Linked DNA regions of Homo sapiens: regions 2, 3, 4, 5, 6 and 7 are each linked to region 1. The links are contacts of gene promoters, found by promoter capture Hi-C in blood cells and fetal thymus (Javierre and others, 2016). All regions are on one chromosome and are shown on one strand. The core of a region is centred on a gene start or on the middle of the fragment in contact, and the rest is flanking DNA. Distances in the headings are between cores, read along the strand shown. Region 1 holds the start of ORC4 (origin recognition complex subunit 4). Region 2 overlaps EPC2 (enhancer of polycomb 2). Region 3 overlaps EPC2 (enhancer of polycomb 2). Region 4 overlaps EPC2 (enhancer of polycomb 2). Region 5 has its middle 2.6 kb from the start of EPC2. Region 6 has its middle 22 kb from the start of EPC2. Region 7 has its middle 59 kb from the start of EPC2.

Region 1 (2,615 bases), core at 57-2,556:
TTAAGTGACATCTAGAAAGTGTGCCTCTTTCTGTCTCTTTCCCTGGCGCCTCATTGGAGGAAGGAGGGGGTTGTTTTTGTATTCTCCCCCACTGGAGCAAGACACAATCAGATGTTAGATGGAGGAGAGAAACCACTTTTGACAACAGCAAATAAAAATAAAAGTGCCCTTCCTCCCCTGACAGGATGGGCACCCCACCTCACACACCCCTCCCTACTCCAACCCCTCCTTCACCCCCCCCAGCACCACCCCCTCCTCACCCCGGAGCTCCACTGCGTATGTGGTTTGGTGCTACTGTTGCCCCGGAGTGAAAGTCAGAGCCAGAGGAAGGCAATGAAGCCCCCACAGACACACTTACCTTTCCTGCCCCCCACTTTTGAGTGCCTTCCCTGGAGCTGTGGAGGATGACACAAAGGGTAATAAAGGGGGGGAGTGGAGGAGGAGGAGGCGAAGGAGGAGGAGGAGAGCTGGGGAAGTGGCTGCTCCTGGGTGTAGTGAGATGTCTCCAGCCAGGGCCAAGCAGCAGCAGTAGCAGCAGCAGCAGTAGCAGCAGCAGCAGCAACAGCAGCAGCAGCAGCAACAGCAGCAGCAAAGGGTCTGTGTTGCTAAGAGGCTTTTGGTTTCTTTCTCTCCTCCTCTCACGGCCAAAGAGGAGGAGGGTGGAGGGAGGGAGGCGAGTTGGAGGGGTGAGGGGGTAGGAGTCGTGGATGGGGGTTTTCGAAGAAGAAGAAACTCCTTCTCCTCTCTCAGGCTCAATCCCCCTCTCAGGGCTCAGGGCTGGAGGGTGGGGGAAGGAACTCAGCCGCCTTCCCCCCACCCCCCTGAATTCAAGGTTGAAGTGGGGTAGAATTAGTGTCCTGTCCCTTTAAAAATAGAAATAAAAGGTGCCCCCCCTCTGCCACTGCCTCTCTCTTCATCATCAGCTGCTGCTGCTGCTGGGGTCTCTCTGCTTGGGGGGGAGGGGGGGTTCGGGTAGAAGAGACGGGAGGCACTCACTGCGCATGTCCCTCTCTGACGGGTGGCTGGTTGGTTGAAGGCAGGAGGAGGGGGAGGGGAGGAAATGAGCTATTTTCCCAGAAGGCGTCGAGGCGCTAGCGACCCGGAAGACATTGTAGCGGGAGGTACAGGAGCGGGGGCGGGGAGGAGGAGGAAGTCGCTACGCTTTTAACACCCCCAGCTCCCTCCTCCTTCCTAAGGGAAAGTGGAGGAACGGAAGTGGGCGTGGACGGAGACGAAAGGAGGTCACGTGTTTGGGCGGGAGAGGGGCGGGGTGGGAGAGGTAGTGCGTGCGCGGGGCATGCCGGGAGTGGTTGTGTACGGTCCGCAGCGGCAGGTGAAGTCTAGCAGAGGACGCGGCCAGGCGATTCGGTGAAGCGATTCCTGCAGGCGTTGGTTCCCCTCTTTGACCTGGTAAATGCAGGCTTTTATGCGAGAGGTAATGGTGGGGGTAAACTTGCTGCAAACGAAGGCCAGGGGCGTCGGTGGCGCAAGGTGAATCGAAAGTGGGAGGATGGAAGGCTGTGGAGATTGGGAATTGGGAAGGGGGCAGGCTTGTATAGGCCGGGAAGGCCAGGACCAGGCGAGCTCCGTCTTGTGGCCACTCCCGCCCCGTGAGCTTGCCGAGGAATCCTTGACAAGTGCAGGGATCCTGAGTCTACCTCTGCATCGGGGTAGTAGGTGAGGAGCGTGACGGTCCGAGTGTAAGAGAGAAGGGAACTGTGAAGCCTCAGCAATTGACCCTCATGACTGCAGGACGGAGGACTTCTATCTAGGGACAGAGACAAGTCCTCTGTATGCATTTTGACCAGATGCATCACACGCGTTGCTCATATTGGATATTGCGCCCTTCATGCCTTACCTCTCAACCCTCCCTGGTATTCTGGAGTGGCTTTGGGGAAGGAGCAGGCAGGGAAGTCTTGAGTGGAGCTTCCCTCCATGTCTTGCGTTGTTGCTACAACACAAAGCCTTTGCTTTTTCTCGGAGAGGGATGTGGGATTGTGTAGTCCTTAATGTTGAGTTCTACGATTGATGAAGGAGAAGGGACGTGATCAAAGTTTCCCCTTATAGTGTAGATGAGAGTTTTAAAAGGACTGTTTTGTCAAGTTTCTTTGGTTACTATTCTTAGTTTTTGAGCCTTTGGTTTCCCAAATGCCAGCTGTTTTTGCTGAAAATAATGAATTTCTATCATAAAATTAGAATTAACTCAAAATATTTAAGAAAGGATTTATAAATTTACATTAGTAAAGCTTTTATAGTGAAACAGTGCTGGTTCTTTTTCATTGTTTTCATACAATCAATATAAAGCATCACAGTCTCAATATGTTTTGTAAAGATATTTTGAAGGAATATCATCTTTGTATGTTTTTTAAAAACCAAGAATCTAAAATTCTTCGTATTTATTATGTTGGTACTTAATTCTGTTGGGTGGGTTCTTTTTGTTTGTTTTTTGTTTTGAGACGGAGTCTCGCTCTGTCTCCCAGACGAGTGCAGTGGCGCGATCTCGGCTCACTGCAACCTCTGTCTCCTGGGTTCAAGCAGTTCTCCTGCCTCACCCTCCCGAGTAGCTGAAACTACAGGCATGTGCCACCACGCCTGGCTAATTTTTTTGTGTTTTC
Region 2 (2,615 bases), core at 47-2,546, 690 kb before region 1:
TAACAAGCAATCAGAGAGCCAAATCACGAATGAACTCACATTCACAACTGCCACAAAAATAATAAAATACCTGGAAATACAGCTAATAAGGGAAGTGAGGGACCTCTTCAAGGAGAACTATAAACCACTGCTCAAAGAAATCAGAGAGGACACAAATAAATGGAAAAACATTCCATGTTCATGGGTGGGAAGAATCAATATTGTGAAAATGGTCACACTGCCCAAAACAATTTATAGATTCAATGCTATTCCCATTAAACTACCATTGACATTCTTCACAGAATTAGAAGAAACTATTTTAAAATTCATATGGAACCAAAAAAGAGCCCGAGTAGCCAAGACAATCCTAAGCAAAAAGAACAAACATGAAGGCATCATACTACCTGACTTCAACTATGCTACAAGGCTATAGTAACCAAAACAGCATGATATTAGTACAAGAACAGACACACAGACGAATGGAACAGAATAGAGAACCCAGAAATAAGATCACATACATACAACCACCTGACCTCCAACAAACCTGACAAAAACAAGCAATGGGGAAAGAATTCCCTATTTAATAAATGGTGCTCGGAAAACTGGCTAGCCATATGCAGAAAACTGAAACTGGACCCCTTCCTTACACCAAAAACAAAAATCAATTCAAGATGATTAAAGACTTAAATGGAAAACCCAAAACTATAAAAACGCTAGAAGAGGCTGGGCGCAGTGGCTCTCGCCTGTAATCCCAGCAATTTGGGAGGCCGAGGTGGGCAGACCACAAGGTCAGGAGATCAAGATAATCCTGGCTAACATGGTGAAACCTGGTCTCTATTAAAAATACAAAGAAGTAGCCGGGTGCGGTGGCACGTGCCTGTAGTCCCAGCTACTCAGGAGGCTGAGGCAGGAAAATGGTGTGAACCTGGGAGGCGGAGCTTGCAGTGAGCTGAGATCGTGCCACTGCACTTCAGCCTAGGCAACAGAGCAAGACTCTGTCTCCAAAAAAAAAAAAAAAAAAAAAAAAACCCTAGAAGAAAATCTAGGCGATACCATTCAGGATATAGGCATGGGCGAAGATTTCATGACAAAGATGCCAAAAGCAACTGCAACAAAAGCAAAACTTGACAAATGGAATCTAATTAAACTAAAGAGCTTATGCACAGCAAAAGAAACTCTCATCAGAGTAAACAGACAACCTACAGAATGGGAGAAACTTTTTGCAACTTACCCATCTGACAAAGATGTAATATTCCAGCATCTACAAGGAACTTAAACAAATTTACAAGAAAAAAACAACCTGATTAAAAGTGGTCAAAGGACATGAACAGACACTTCTCCAAAGAAGACATTCATGTGGCCAACAAACATGAAAAGAAGCTCAACACCACTGATCATTAGAGAAATGCAAATCAAAACCACAATGAGGTACCATCTCACACCAGTCAGAATGGCAATTATTAAAAAGTCAAAAAACAACAGATGCTGGCAAGGTTGTGGAGGAAAAGGAACGCTTTTACACTGTTGGTGGGAGTGTAAATTAGTTCAACCATTGTGGAAGACAGTGTGGCAATGCCTCAAAGACCTAGAGGCAGAAATACCATTTGACTCAACAATCCCCTTACTTGGTATATACCCAAAGGAATATAAATCATTCTATTATAAAGATACATGAATGCATGTTCACTGCAGCACTATTCACAATACCAAAGACATGGAATCAACCTAAATGCCCATCGATGATAGACTGGCTAATGCAAATGTGCTACATCCACACCACAGAATGTTATGTGGCCAAAAAAAAAGGAACGAGATCATGCCCTCTGCAGGGACATGAATGGAGCTGGAAGCCATTATCCTTAGCAAACTAACACAGAAACAGAAAATCAAATACTGCATGTTCTCACTTAGAAATGGGAGCTGAATGATGAGAACACATGGACACATGGGGATGGGGGGAACGACCCACACTGGGGCCTGTCAGAGGGTGGGGGGTGGGAGGAGGGAGAGCATCTGGAAGAACAGCTAATGGATTCTGGGCTTAATACCTAGGTGATGGAATGATCTGTGCAGCTAATCACCATGGCACATGTTTAACTAGGCAAGAAACCTGCACATCCTGCACATGTACCCCTCAATCAAGAAATAAAAAAGAAACATTCTGACAAATGCATCTGTTAGATGATTTCATTCATTGTGGGAACATCACAGAGTGTACCTACACAAACCTAAAGGTACAACCTATGCTATATGCTGTAGCCTATTGCTCCTAGGCTACAAACCTGTAGAGCATGCTAGTGTAGGCAACTGTGAAATAATGGGAAGTATCTGTATATCTAAACATTAAACATAGATAAGGTACAGTAGAACTATGGTATAAAAGATAAAAAATGGTATATACTGTATAGGGCACATCATAAATATAGCTTATAGGATGGCAAGTTGTCTAGGTGAGTTGAGGGGTGACTGAATGCAAAGGCTTAGGACATTACACTGTTGTAGACTACACTCAGGCTACACTAAACTTAAAAAAAATTTTTTTTCTCTAATAATAAACAGCTTACTGTAACTTTTTCACTTTATAAACTTTTACTTTTTAACTTTTTGTCTCTTTTGTAACACCACAGCTAAAACAG
Region 3 (2,615 bases), core at 50-2,549, 670 kb before region 1:
TTTATGACCAATACTGCTTTTATATTTTGTAATCACATCATGGCTAAAATATGTGCCACTATACATCAAATTTACCTTATTATAGTGTCTTTATTCTCTCCCTGATTTCTTTAACCATGGTCTTTAATTTATTGCATTGTATTTTACTCTAAGTCACTGCAAATGCCTTTTTTTCTTTTTTGAAAAGTGGACATAAATAAATGCACATAGCCTGAAGGGGCGTTCTCCTTTAAACTCAGGCTTCTCTTTCATTTATCTCAGACTACCCAATGATTAGTTTGCTTTTCACACAATGTCTGGCATTACCTTTTTTTTCTCCTGTAGTGACAAGGTCTCACTGTGTTGTCCAAACTAGTTTTCAACTTCTGGACTCAAGTGATCCTCCCACACTGGCCTCCCAAAGTGCTGGGATAACAGGTGTGAGCCACTGTGCCTGGCCTCCTTTCATATCTATTATCTTCTAGGTTTGGAGGCTTCTCCTCCTTCCTGGATTAGTACCTACCCAGATACAACTCTACCATTTCAGCCCATGTCCACACTCACAGCTTTGCCCAAGAATAGGACACGGTTGCAGCTAGTGCACAATCTGAGGAGAGAGGAATATCCTTAGAGCTAGCTGATCTGAATGTGGGTTGCCCTCAGGGGCTGGCCTTATTCCCTGTCCCTTCTAATCACCTGAAATTGAGATCCAGCTTCACCTGTAATGTGTTCTCCACAAATCTGACAAAATCTGCTTCTGTACCCATGGCATTGTTTTACCAGTCTTTATTTATTTGAATATGTGATGTCCTTTCACAGAATTTATGTCCAATTTCTTAATACACATCCAATAGTATTTTTTTTACAAGAAAATGATGTTCCTGGAATGCATCCTTTCTACCAATAAGTCTTACTGTATAAACAAAACAATGCTCTTCATTTGTTCTGAATCCTCCCCAACTCTTTCCAATCAAAATATGTTTGCCCTGAAAGAACAGGTCAATTATCATTTTTTGCATAATGCAGAGAATATCAAAAGACATTTCCAAGGATAATGAGACTGAAGTTGGATGTCAGGCCAGCATCTATTTTAACCATGCTGAAAAACCTAGTGGTATACACAGGTCCACTTTATGTTGGTAAGTGTAACTTTTTCTCTTTTCCAATGTAGACTTGACAACAGTCAGCTTTATCAGTCTGAGGAGTCAGCTTCAAGTTGTACAGAAGTGTACAGCAGTGTCCACACACAGGCATTTTGCTAGGGCTTAAAATCTTGGAAGCAGACACAAACGGTACATTTCAATTCCCTTTGAGTGCATTCCTCTCTCTGCCTGACAGATGACAAGTTATTACTCCACCTATCCTTTCTCCTGAACTCTTCTTTCAGTCAGGACCGTCTACTGTTCTATGTTTGTAAGACTAAGGGAATGAGATGGGGGAAGTAAACTTTCATTTCAAAATAAGAAAAGAGAGTCCTGCTACCAAGAACTATTTAACTGAGTTCAAAACTGGATACAAATTAACTTCAGAATACTTAAGAAACAATGTCAGGCTGGTGCGATGGCTCACGCCTGTAATCCCAACACTTTAGGAGGCCAAGGTGGGCAGATCACGGATCATGAGGCCAGGAGTCCAAGATAAGCCTGGCCAACATGGTGAAACCCTATCTCTACTAAAAATACAAAAATTAGCCGGGCGTGGTGGCACGCACCCGTGATCCCAGCTACTCTGGAGGCTGAGGCAGAGGAATTGCTTAAACCTGGTGGGGGCGGTGAGGAAGGTTGTGGTGAGCAGATATTGCACCACTGCACTCCAGCCTGGGCAACAGAGCAAGATTCCGTCACCAGGGTTTGGGCGGGGGGAGGAGAATGTTAAGTTCCTTCGTGTTCTACAATTCCAAGATATTTAGTATCAACTGTAAAATGTTATCATATTAAATAAAACAGGTAATAGGAGATCAAATAAAGATACTATTGAAATGTAAACAAAGTTGTTTCCTTAAAGAGAAAAGTTTGGGTACTGAATTTAATAAAATTATTGAACTCCAAGAGGAATGAAAATTATAACATTTGGGTTGAGGAACCCAAAGTAAATGTAACTTAATGAAAGTAGGTAGTGTTTTTTTCTGCATGTGGCACACAACTGAAGTGTTTTACTATCTTAGGTCATCAAAGACTTTGTGCCTTCAGGATGCTTCCCACCTGGTAAAGACAGCTCAATGTGTTATGATTCAATAAATTCTGCATAAAGCTGATTAAGGGTGACTATGAAGAACTGCTACTGAAAGGGATCAGAAGGAACAAGAATGTTTGTCTCACTTTCATAACAGATTGGAGTCCACTCCCAACTCCTTCTCGGCACTTTTTGGGCTAAATTAACAGTTGGTGAATAACAGAACTCACCTTTTAATTTCTAACACAGCGGGTTGCTCAATTTCACTGTATGCACTAATAATTTTAGCCTTATATTTGATTCTGTGTACAATTTTTAGTCCAACAAATACTGATGGCTCGAAAATGCCATGGAGTATATGCTTTTAATTTCATTAATTCTTTCACTCATTTATTTATTCAGCAAATATTTAACTGCACACCTAACCACATGCTATAAGTACTGTACTAGGCAGTGAAATTCAA
Region 4 (2,615 bases), core at 35-2,534, 650 kb before region 1:
AGAGAGAAGGGACAGAGAGCTTATTTGAAGAAATAATGGCAAAAATTTCCCAAATCCAATTAAGGAAATGGACATCCAAATTCAGGAAGCTCAAAGGACTCCAACTAGAATAGCCCAACAACACACACACTGAGAAACATTATAATAATTATAATCAAGTTATCAAAAGTCAAAGACAGAGAATCTTGAAAGTAAGAGAAAAACAACTTGTCATGTACAAGGGAGAGCTCATAGATTTATCAGTGCATTTCTCAGCAGAAACGTTACAGCTCAGGAAACAGAGTAATATATCCAAAGGACTGAGAGAAAAAAACTGTCAGAACAGAATGATATATCTGACAAAATGTTCTTCAAAAATGAAAGACAAATAAAAACCTCCCAGATAAGTAAAAACTGAGGGAGTTCATCGCTACTGACCCTTCCTATAAAAATTGCTAAAGGGAGTCCTTCAAGTTGAAACAAAAGGATGCTAGACAACAACAAGAAACCACGCAAAAATATAAAACTTAGGTAAAAGTAAATATATAGGCAAATAGAGAACCTATACTACTGTAATAGTGGTATGCAAATTATTTTAATTTCTGGTATACAACTTAAAAGACAAAAACATTTTTAAAAAACTATGTTAATGCATACAAAACACAAAAAATATAATTTTGACACTATAATATTAAGCGGTGGTGAGCAAAAGGCATAGTTTTTGTATACAAAAATAAATTGCTTTTAAGTTTTTAGACTGTTGCCACTGTAAGATGTTTTATGTAATCCCCATGATGATCACACCACAAATACCTTCAAGAAAATTAATGAAAGAAATAAAAGTATGTCACTATAAAAAACAAAATCAACGAAGCACAAAGGGAAGTCAGCATGTGAGAGATAGAGTAGATGAATGGCGTGAAAAACAAAAAGACTCCGACCACATGCTATCTACAAGAGATTCACTTTAGACATAAGGACAAACATAGCCTGAAAGTGAAAAGATGGAAAAAGATATTCCATGTAAATGGTAACCAAAAGAAAGCAGAGATGTCCATACTTCTATCAGACAAAAGAGACTTTAGTCAAAAACCATCAAAGACATAAAGATACATAAAGACAAATGAGTTAATTCACCAGTAATATATAACAATTATAAGACTTACTTTTAAGTACTTCTTATAATTAAGAAGACTGAGTCAGTAATCAAAACACCTCTCAACAAAGAAAAGCCTAGGACCAGATGGCTTCACTGGAGAATTTTACCAAACATTTCAAGAAGGATGGACACAAATCCTTCTCAAACTCAAAGATACTTTAAGAAAACTATAGGCCAATATCCCATACATATTCAGGCATATCAACAAATGTGAATGAATTTAACTCACCTACTAAAACAAAAAGGTTTTCAATTTGGCTTGTAATCCAAGGCTCAACTATACACTGTACACCAAAAAAAAAAATTCCTCCTCTAAATGAAAATAATGCAACTAAAAATGCAAGGAGGAAGAGGAAAAAATAGAATAAGCTGAATTTTTGTGAGCTTACTCAAAGATGGTTAAGAAAGGGTAAAAATAAAGGGACGGACAAAAGTTTACCAGGTAAATGGAGACAATAAGAAATGCAAGCAGATCCTAATACAAGTAGAATTCAAGCCAAAGAAAATTAAATATGACCATAGAAAAGATGACTTTTTTTGGGGGGATGGGGTCTTGCTCTGTTGCCCAGGCTGGAATGCAGTGGCACAATCTCAGCTCGCTGAAACCCCCACCTCCCAGGTTCAGGCAATTCTCCTGCCTCAGCCTCCCGAGCAGCTGGGATTACAGGTGCACACCACCATGCCTGACTAATTTTTATATTTTTAGTAGAGACAGGGTTTCACCATGTTGGCCAGGCCAGTCTCAAACTCCTGATCTCAAGTGATCCGCCTGCCTCGGCCTCCCAAAGTGCTGGGATTACAGGCATGAGCCATCATGCCCAGCCAAAAAGATGACTTTTTAATGCTACAAAAAAAAAAAAAAAAAAAATCACAATCCACAATAGAGATTTAGCATTTATGATTATTTTTACAGCAAGTAATGAAGCAAACATTTTATGAAGCAAAAGCTACCAGATATGCAAGTACCAATAAATAAAAACACACTAATAACAGCAAACTTTAATATACCACTATCAGCATAAAACAAATCAAGTGAACACCTAAGCAACTTAATAAGGTTGATCTTAAACCTATATATCAGACTTTATGCCCAAATGGCCCCTCCTTCCCAAGTACCCAAGAAACCATCATAAAAATTGTTCATGTATTAGTCAAGAATGAGAAAGAATAGGGGCTGGGTGCAGTGGCTCACACAGTAATCCCAGCACTTTCAGAAGATGAGAAAGGAAGACTGCTTAGCCTAGGAGTTCAAGACAAGCCTGGGCAACATACTGATGTCTAGTCTCCACAAAAAATAAACAAAAATAGGTGGCACGTGCCAGCTACTTGGGAGGCTGAGGTGGAAGGATTGCTTGAGCCTGGAAGTTGAGGCTGCAGAAATCTTGCCACTGTACTCTAGCCTGGGCAGCAGAGTGAGACCGAGGGGAAGGGAGGGGACAGGGAAGAGGAGAGAGAATAGACAAGGGAGAGGAGGGGA
Region 5 (2,615 bases), core at 78-2,577, 620 kb before region 1:
ACCGTACAAAGAGAGTTTTTAACACATTTTACCATTTTCTAATAATCGATCATACTCTAACTCAGAGAAAGTCAGATGATTTCCTAAAGACCAACAGTGAAAAAATTGATTCCTACTGTCATTTCTATGTGACAATAAAACTATATCTCTTCCTCTATTACGTCCTTCTTCCCCTCCTCCACTTCCTCCCCTCCCCCTTTTTCCTCCTGTTCCTCTTCCCCTTTTCTCTCTGCAGTCTCCTCCTTTGAAGGCAGAATGGTGGATATAGTCTTCATGGTAGTGTCCAAATAGTCTAACCAGTCTGTCGCAGCAAAACTCCGAGTATTGTTTAGTGGGGCTTGAGTGTTTTTCATCCACTTTGTTGTTGGAAGCAATGGAGTTGCTGTGACTCATTTCTTGTAAGCAGTACCTTCCTCAAGCTTATGGGCATGTCCTGCTCTCTAAGTGCTACCCCTGGAACAGTTCCAATCCTCTGGAAGCAAGAACAAGAAGTTCTTGGGAGGGGGTCAGCACTGGGTTCAAGCCTGAAAGGGAAGAAAAAAGCAATAGTTGAAGAAATGAGTCATCCAGAGCTTTCATCTGGATGCCCAGCCCTCCTCAGGTTCAGAAAGGATAGCTTTCTTCTAGTCCCTATGTTTAGTTTTACTGTTTCTCTCAGAAAAGGAAATATCAAGTATGTGTAATATACCATCCATTGTAGTAACATGTTATATATATTATCTCAACTAGTTGAATTCCACTTAATTCTTATTATAATTTTATGAAAAAATATAATTTTACCAATAAGAAAACTGAGCATCAGATAATTTGCCAAATTTCAATTCCAACAACTTGCAGAACTGGGCTCAAATTCAGGTCTGACCTGACTCCAAAACTCTGGTTTTCTCAGTGGTGCTACCCTGCTATCCAAGCTCTTCAGCTTATTGACCAGTCAGCATTCTAAAGCTGCTAATTCAAAATTAGTTACTAAGACCTTCCAACCAACGGCCAAGGGAGCGCATAAGCCAGAGCCTAAAGTTGCAGTAGACCAAGGAGGGCAGGAACAACATCTGTCTGTCAATCACTGTATCCCCAGTTCCATGCCTCACATATGGCAGGCATCTAAAGTATATTTGTTGACTGATATTCCATGAAGAAATTCACTGATACTGACCCCATGCCACTCTAGTTTATAGTTCACATACCTCACTGGCCTGTCACCTGACCTAGCTATTGCTGCCAATATTTGTTCTTACTGTGGCCTACCCTGTTGTCCAGCTTTGTACCTTTGTGCATAGAGATTTTAGAACCAATTAATGTTATTCAAAAACACCTTTTTGAAACCTGGAATTTATAGGAAGGGATTTTTGCTGTTGTGGTTGTTTCTTTGTTGTTCTTTTACTTTGACCATGTAAAAGATTTCTTCCCCAAATCTCCATTTTCTTCTCACCCTGTAGGCAATGATTATAGAGCTGGGAATAAAACCATTTAAGGCAAATAACACAATATACTTTTCAACGGAGACACAGCCTGTGTTTTCTTGGCTTCCAATTCAGTGCCCAAACCGGAATGCCACTGTTCACTTTTGGAAAGTAACTTTTATTTGTATATAAATATTACTTTTCATAAAGTTTATTTCTGATTGATTTGTTGAATACTCATATAATTGTTAGTGCTAAAAGCAAAAAATATCTTCTTATAAAATAAAAAATTCTCTCATGAAATATTTTTATCAAGACCTGCCTCAAATGGGTGTGCAGCCTAATAGCCTATTTTAATTTCCACATACAATGCGCTAAGTATAGTCATTCTAAAATCAGTCCACTTCAGATATGCTCTAGACCAATTCCAAATGACATGCATTTAGCCCAGCAAGCATAATATATAAGCACCCAAGAATTAAAACCAGTTTAAAGCCATATCAAAATAAAATCACTGTCTAAATGTAGTCTAAATTAGAATAAATGTCAAATAACTGTTAGAATTAGGATTACATTCCAGTGTCCATCTCCCAGTACTATAATCAAGGCAGGCAGCTTCCAAATAATGGACAAATTACTTTTTGAAAGGAATCTTAAAACTAGTAAACACAGTTGCTATTCAACTATTTCAGAGTTTTGCAAATGTCACGTTCTTTCTAATTGGCTCCTGGTTTCAGCAAAACCATTTGAAAGTTAATTGGGTTAGTATGTGAACTGCATCTCCACCCCTCCCCCTTATGTTCCCAGGAATGAGCCTAGTACTAATAAAGCTTCGTTGTTTTCCATATGTAATCTGAATGTGGGGTCTGCATTCATTACAATCAACTGGAATCAGTTCTGTGGTTCCAGTGCCCTTTTCTGAGGCAGCTCTGCATCTTTGAGACATAGGGACAGAGACTACACTGAGAGGTGACCTGCCAAACATCTACTTCTACCTCTGCATTTGCCACCGTGGGAATAGCAGATGGTAAATAAAAATTTGTGACTGTGGCTCAGTTTCTTAGCAGCATCGCTCCTCTCAGACCTGGTTGGAATCACAGGGTGCCACCTTGTGTATAAGCTGACGATTTACTTCCCAGCTCCACAAAGGATCCAAATAGACTCCAAAATAATCAGCCTGAAAGCTCTGCATTTTGGTAACTAAAAAAAAAAGAA
Region 6 (2,615 bases), core at 39-2,538, 600 kb before region 1:
AGAGAGAGAGAGAGAGAGAGAGAGAGAGAGAGAGAGAGAGAGAGAATGAACTATATAGATAAAGTGGGCCGCCTGCAATGAGCTGTGGCCTTCAGAAGAAGGATGCAGTGACCAGGCAGTCAGACAGCACAGAAAATAAATCAACGCCCAACTTCTTCACTCTCCCCGGCCCCCACATCTGCTGTTGCTCCTCATTGGTAGCAATCAAGTCCTGAAGCAGGCAAAATTGCCTGCTGATTCAGTCCACAAAGATGAGTCCCTTGGGGGCCCAAGAAAAGGAGAAGAAGGATGGAAACAGGAGACGGGAGGGTGGCAGAAAATATCCAGCACGTCCATTGTGTACCACTTTCAGAGGGTGGACCACAACCTTATTTCAGACTTGACACCAACAATTTGTAAAATAGCATTGAATTTGGGACATAGTGTTTTTACTGGGAGATGGTATATAAAGTAGATGCAACATAAAGAAATCCTACATGTCTGTCTCAGAGACTTGATAATTTAGTCTTAGCCATTGTATTGGCTCAGACTAAAAACTAGGCTAGCACCAACCTCCAAGCCCCCTGTGACACTCTTGAGCATGGCTGCAGGAAAGAGACTGAAGGAATAAAACTTAACTATACCACCACCTCTCTCCTTTAGGGGTGTGACAGGATCACACAATACCATCATAAATCTTCTCTTTCATTTTGCTATGAAGGAAGTAGAAGAGGCAGAAGTTAAAAAAAAAAGAAAAAAAGCCATGGCCTGAGATATGAGTGAAAGTTTGAGCCTTGTTTTTTTGTTTTTTTTTGTTTTTTTTTTCAGGGAGGGAGGGAGTAAGAGAAGCAGTTGCTGTTAGGATGAGAGGGACCTTGGGGCAATAGATGAGTAAAAAGGAATGTTAGGTTGTTTGACTGTGTGTCATTCAATATTACATTCTTTTCCCTTTGGAATTTTCTAAAACACCTAACAAAGGATTTAAGTTGCATCCCAGTATTTTATTTGAAGAAGAAAGTGGATAGAGACCCCAAGTTATCCTAGCCTTAATTTAGGCTACAGAAGCAAAGAACAGATGGCCATCTGGACAGAGAGCCTTTTCTAGGAGGAAAGTACAAAAAGCATGGGAACTCAGAGATGCCAGCCTCTGTAGGCTAGCATGTAGGGCTAGGTGAACTCTTTTACCCTCATCCCCATTTTCCAGGAAGAGAAAACACTTTCATCAAGTGTAATATGAAGGGTTTATGGGCGAAGAAGTACAGCTCAGCTCAACATACTAATAGACTCAAATATTAAGGAATGGGTTGGCAGCCACACTTACAAATAGACTCCCTTTCAAGATAACAAAGACTACTAGGGATGACTGTACTTGCTGTCTGAGATCAAGCCTTGGCTTCTGCCTGTCCCATCATCTCTTGAGTCCTGATCTGGGCCTGTTGCCCATGTTCCCATCTGTCCTGCTCACTGCTTGGCACTCTTTCCCATTCATAACCTCAGCCTCCACGTGTTTGTGCCTTTGATGAGCCCCTTCTGCAAACTCTAGCCCTAGCATGTGTGTGAATTCCAAGTTGTGATAACTGCTTTTCTCAACAATATATTTCTTCCAGTCTTGTTCGAAATTCTTGACACTATCTTGGCTCTGCATATATACTATTCCTATAGCATAACCAGAAGCTGCCGGGATCTGATGCTAAACCAAGTTAAGAGCACATCAGCCTGGCCAAGGCCGACTATCTCAAATTCCTGCAAACCAATATTGTATCACTGATATTTATTGGATTTTTTCCTATAAGCCCAGCACTTTGCATCAATTATCTCGTGTGAACATACCTATATGTAAGACAGTACTACCTTTCCTGTTTTATAGATGAAAATACCAAGAACGACAAGGGTTGAGTGACTTTCATAAGGTCAGGTAGCCTGCTGGTGGAGCTGGGGTTGGAACCCAGGCATTCAGACTTCTGAGCCTGTGATTCGACCACTATGCTACATGTGCCCAGAATGTGTCTCATCCTCCAGAAAGGAGATGACCCGGGACCTTCACATAAGCCATGCCTTCTGGTCTGGAGCACCTTCCCTCATGCTGTACATGATGGGCTCCTTCTCGCCCTTCAAGTCTGTTTCCATATGTCCTACTCATAGAGGCCTAGACTGTCTCTCCTGTTTGTATACATCCTGTTCTTCTCCTTCGTTGCATTTATCTCAATAAATATTCCTTGGCATGTTTACTATCTAATGTCTTGTCTTGCTCTGCAAGTGATGGGACTGGGTATGTTTTGCTCAGCACCATATTCCAACACTCATCTCAGCAACTGACCCACAGTAGACATCACACCTTTCAAATAGACAAATAAATGAATAGACTCCCTTCTGGTATTCTCATCTTAGAACCTTGCAAAGTTTCATATACTATCTAAATTATTGAGTCTGTGGCAAATGCTTTTTACTGTTTGCTTATTGCTGAGAAGGCAAACTTCTTTTCCTCTGAGGGTAGGTTTTACTTATTTATAGATAAAAGTCTTTTGAGGTCCAATTTGCAATGAGCAAGTTTGTCACAATCAGGTAATCTAACGTCAGTTCAAAATGCCTTGTGATTATAAAGTGGTAAGATCATGCGTGTGTGGCCTGCAGCAGAG
Region 7 (2,615 bases), core at 60-2,559, 570 kb before region 1:
AAGAAATCCAACGATGACCAATAAGATAAGTCTTTCTGAAGTGTTATTTGACCTCTCTTGTTATTCAGTTCTTTAAAAAAATTTTTTAATTGATATATAATTCAATAAAATGTATCCATTTGAGTGTACAATTCAGTGATTTTTAGTACATTCAAAAGGTTGTGCAACCATCACCACTATCTAATTCTAGAATGCTTTCATCACCCCTAAGGAAACTCCCTATCCCCAGCTCCTGGCAACTACTAATCTACCTTCATTTCCTCCTGCTTACCTCTAGTTAATAATGCCTCTAGCCTTGGGAGGTGGTGGCCGTTAGCATCACAGGCCTTGAGAGAGTTCTGTTTCTAAGATACTTTTCTTGCTCTGCCACCACCGGTAAATGCTATTGACCAAGCAAAGAAATCCCAGGGAAGTCTCAGTAGGGCAATTACTCTTTGTCATGTAAAAAGAGAGGGTATGTGTGAGACGGCTGGTGAAGGATGAACTGATGAGCACACAGATTATTGCCTTTACTGAAGTAGAGTATTGATTGTCATGGATGGCTGAAGATCACATTCTCTAGAAGGATAAAATAGCAGGGCCATTACTTTCAGAGTTAAACAAAGGCATTTGCCATCCTAAAGTCCAAGTCTGGGTCTTCCATTTATTAGCATTATACAAAATTCTTAACTTGCTGACAATTTGCATCTGACATTTTGTTTTCATTTTAATTTTTAAAAATGTTTAAATTTTTAATTTTTGTGGGTACATAGTAGCTGTAAATATTTATGGGGTACATGAGACGTTCTGATACAGGCATGCAATGTGAAATAAGCACATCATGGAGAATGAGGTATCCATCCCCTCAAGCATTTATCCTTTGTGTTACAAACAAATTACATTTGTTTAGTTATTTAAAAATGTACAATTAAGTTATCAAATGTTAGGTGTTATTCATTCTTTCTTTTTTTTTGTACCCATTAACCATCTCCACCTCCCCACCTCAAGCCCCCACTACCCTTCCAAGCCTCTGGTAACCACCCTTCTGCTAAATGGAGCAAGACAGTTTAGGAGAGAGCTGCCTGGGTGTGAGAAGGAAGAGCAGCCCTGACATCCAGGGGTTGACATGGCACTCACAGCCAAGTCTCATTCTGTTGAACATAAACAATTTCATAAACATTAACATCAGATAAGGCCACTCTGTGATCCTGATGGCTCAACACAAAGACGAGACCACTCTCTTATGTCTGAATATGGACAAAAACATGAACATTGTCCAAACCACCAAAATAACCAAACATCCCTTTGCCCTGGCTAATACGAGTGAATGCTGTTTCCTTACTAATCCCAGCTTTAGCTTTCCTTCATTTCTCTCACCCTCTAGCAAAGTTTTATTAGGACGCCAAATCATAGAATTGCCTTGGCTCCCCGACAGCATCTATTCCAGACCAAGGCCCAGCTTCCTCAAACCTTTTTCAAAATCACATAATTCAAGCCCAAATCCTACCATATGTCCTTTCAAACACTTCTAGCTGAGATGCTTCACAGTTCTCCCTCACTGCAATGAGTAGTAAACCCAACTTGTTCATTTACAGCTGCGTTCCTGGTGATATTTGACTGGAGGACATTGACAGGAGAACAGGCAGCTTCTACAAGGATGACTTCAGGGGACCTTGGAAGGGCTGTTGCCCAAAACTATTTCACCACAGGCAATGCCTGAAATTCCATCCTGAGAATGTTATTCCTTTGGGTGAACACTTATCACCTATTAAAGTAGAAAGGTTCTTAGAGAAGAAATTACCCTTTAAATATTCTTAATCCAGCCAGGTGTGGTGGCTCATGCCTATAATCACAGCACTTTGAGAGACCAAGGTGGGTAGATTGCTTGAGTCCAGGAGTTTGAGACCAGCCTGGGCAAAAATTAGCCAGGTGTGGTGGCGCGCATCTGTAGTCCCAGCTACTTGGGGGGCTAAGACGGAGGATTGCTTGAACCTGGGAGGTGGAGGCTGCAGTGTGCCACTGCAGTCCAGCCTGGGTGACAGAGTGAGACCCTGGCTCAAAAACTAATAATAAATAAAAATAAATAAATACTCTTAATCCTAGATGTCTGATTTTGAGTAACCTACTTTCATATTTCATTTATTCTTGAAATTTCCTCACATTTTAGCATCTCAGAAATTAAGACACATCCTATGATCCATGGCATCTTAAATTCTCTGAAACATGGTGATTCTTCTGAGCTTGTTTCCTCAGTTGTGAGTTTTAGTGTTGGATTAAATACTATTTCCAAAACCTCAGTTATTCGCAAATAACTCTCACCATCTTTACTATCTGTATGTTCTACAATAATGACATTCATACCGTATTTGTTCTTTACAGCAACCCCCTTTTAAAAGGTAAGTTAATGTGGCATTTTTCTCATAATCATATCCATGAAATCCTGGGCAAGATGTGCTAGCTTTCCCTAAAAATCTAGTTGTAACTTTCCCTAATATATAAAATATACTTTATGTATTAAGATAAATACATAACTATAAAAACTTACAGAATGTTTTTTCTTTTTTTTTTTTTAATTTTTTTTTTTGAGACGGAGTCTTGCTCTGTCACCCAGGCTGGAGTGCAGTGGTGCAATCTCG

Evidence for each region. The method cuts DNA at HindIII sites, captures the fragments that hold promoters and counts their contacts. A CHiCAGO score of 5 or more calls a contact.
Region 2: a contact is called between a fragment that was not itself captured here and the fragment with the promoter of ORC4 in region 1, in 1 of 17 cell types (total CD8 T cells). The highest score is 7.4, in total CD8 T cells.
Region 3: a contact is called between a fragment that was not itself captured here and the fragment with the promoter of ORC4 in region 1, in 2 of 17 cell types (fetal thymus and total CD4 T cells). The highest score is 6.2, in fetal thymus.
Region 4: a fragment that was not itself captured here is called in contact with the fragment with the promoter of ORC4 in region 1 in 9 of 17 cell types (neutrophils, fetal thymus, naive CD8 T cells and 6 more); the score reaches 10.4 in neutrophils.
Region 5: a contact is called between a fragment that was not itself captured here and the fragment with the promoter of ORC4 in region 1, in 12 of 17 cell types (neutrophils, fetal thymus, non-activated CD4 T cells and 9 more). The highest score is 19.7, in neutrophils.
Region 6: a fragment that was not itself captured here is called in contact with the fragment with the promoter of ORC4 in region 1 in 4 of 17 cell types (total B cells, naive CD4 T cells, non-activated CD4 T cells and 1 more); the score reaches 9.0 in total B cells.
Region 7: a fragment that was not itself captured here is called in contact with the fragment with the promoter of ORC4 in region 1 in 1 of 17 cell types (activated CD4 T cells); the score reaches 5.6 in activated CD4 T cells.

Annotation. Positions count from the first base shown.
Region 1 is chr2:148,019,428-148,022,042 of GRCh38, reverse strand. It overlaps ORC4 (origin recognition complex subunit 4), which reads left to right and starts at 1,306. Exons shown (of 14, transcript NM_181741.4): 1 at 1,306-1,410. MBD5 (methyl-CpG binding domain protein 5) reads right to left here and starts at 952. Exons shown (of 14, transcript NM_001378120.1): 1 at 359-952. RefSeq lists enhancers at 785-884, 1,064-1,661 and a silencer at 1,235-1,394. The HindIII fragment of the contact is 3,631 bases long and covers 1-2,248 here.
Region 2 is chr2:148,713,418-148,716,032 of GRCh38, reverse strand. The region is part of intron 2 of EPC2 (enhancer of polycomb 2); the gene reads right to left. Among named protein-coding and RNA genes, the nearest start is that of EPC2, 70 kb to the right of the region's middle. The HindIII fragment of the contact is 2,733 bases long and covers 1-2,615 here.
Region 3 is chr2:148,693,991-148,696,605 of GRCh38, reverse strand. All of the region lies in intron 2 of EPC2 (enhancer of polycomb 2), which reads right to left. Among named protein-coding and RNA genes, the nearest start is that of EPC2, 51 kb to the right of the region's middle. The HindIII fragment of the contact is 6,770 bases long and covers 1-2,615 here.
Region 4 is chr2:148,670,679-148,673,293 of GRCh38, reverse strand. All of the region lies in intron 1 of EPC2 (enhancer of polycomb 2), which reads right to left. Among named protein-coding and RNA genes, the nearest start is that of EPC2, 27 kb to the right of the region's middle. The HindIII fragment of the contact is 7,570 bases long and covers 1-2,615 here.
Region 5 is chr2:148,640,861-148,643,475 of GRCh38, reverse strand. No RefSeq gene overlaps it. Among named protein-coding and RNA genes, the nearest start is that of EPC2, 2.6 kb to the left of the region's middle. The HindIII fragment of the contact is 1,811 bases long and covers 422-2,232 here.
Region 6 is chr2:148,621,359-148,623,973 of GRCh38, reverse strand. No RefSeq gene overlaps it. Among named protein-coding and RNA genes, the nearest start is that of EPC2, 22 kb to the left of the region's middle. The HindIII fragment of the contact is 6,509 bases long and covers 1-2,615 here.
Region 7 is chr2:148,584,511-148,587,125 of GRCh38, reverse strand. No RefSeq gene overlaps it. Among named protein-coding and RNA genes, the nearest start is that of EPC2, 59 kb to the left of the region's middle. The HindIII fragment of the contact is 3,730 bases long and covers 1-2,615 here.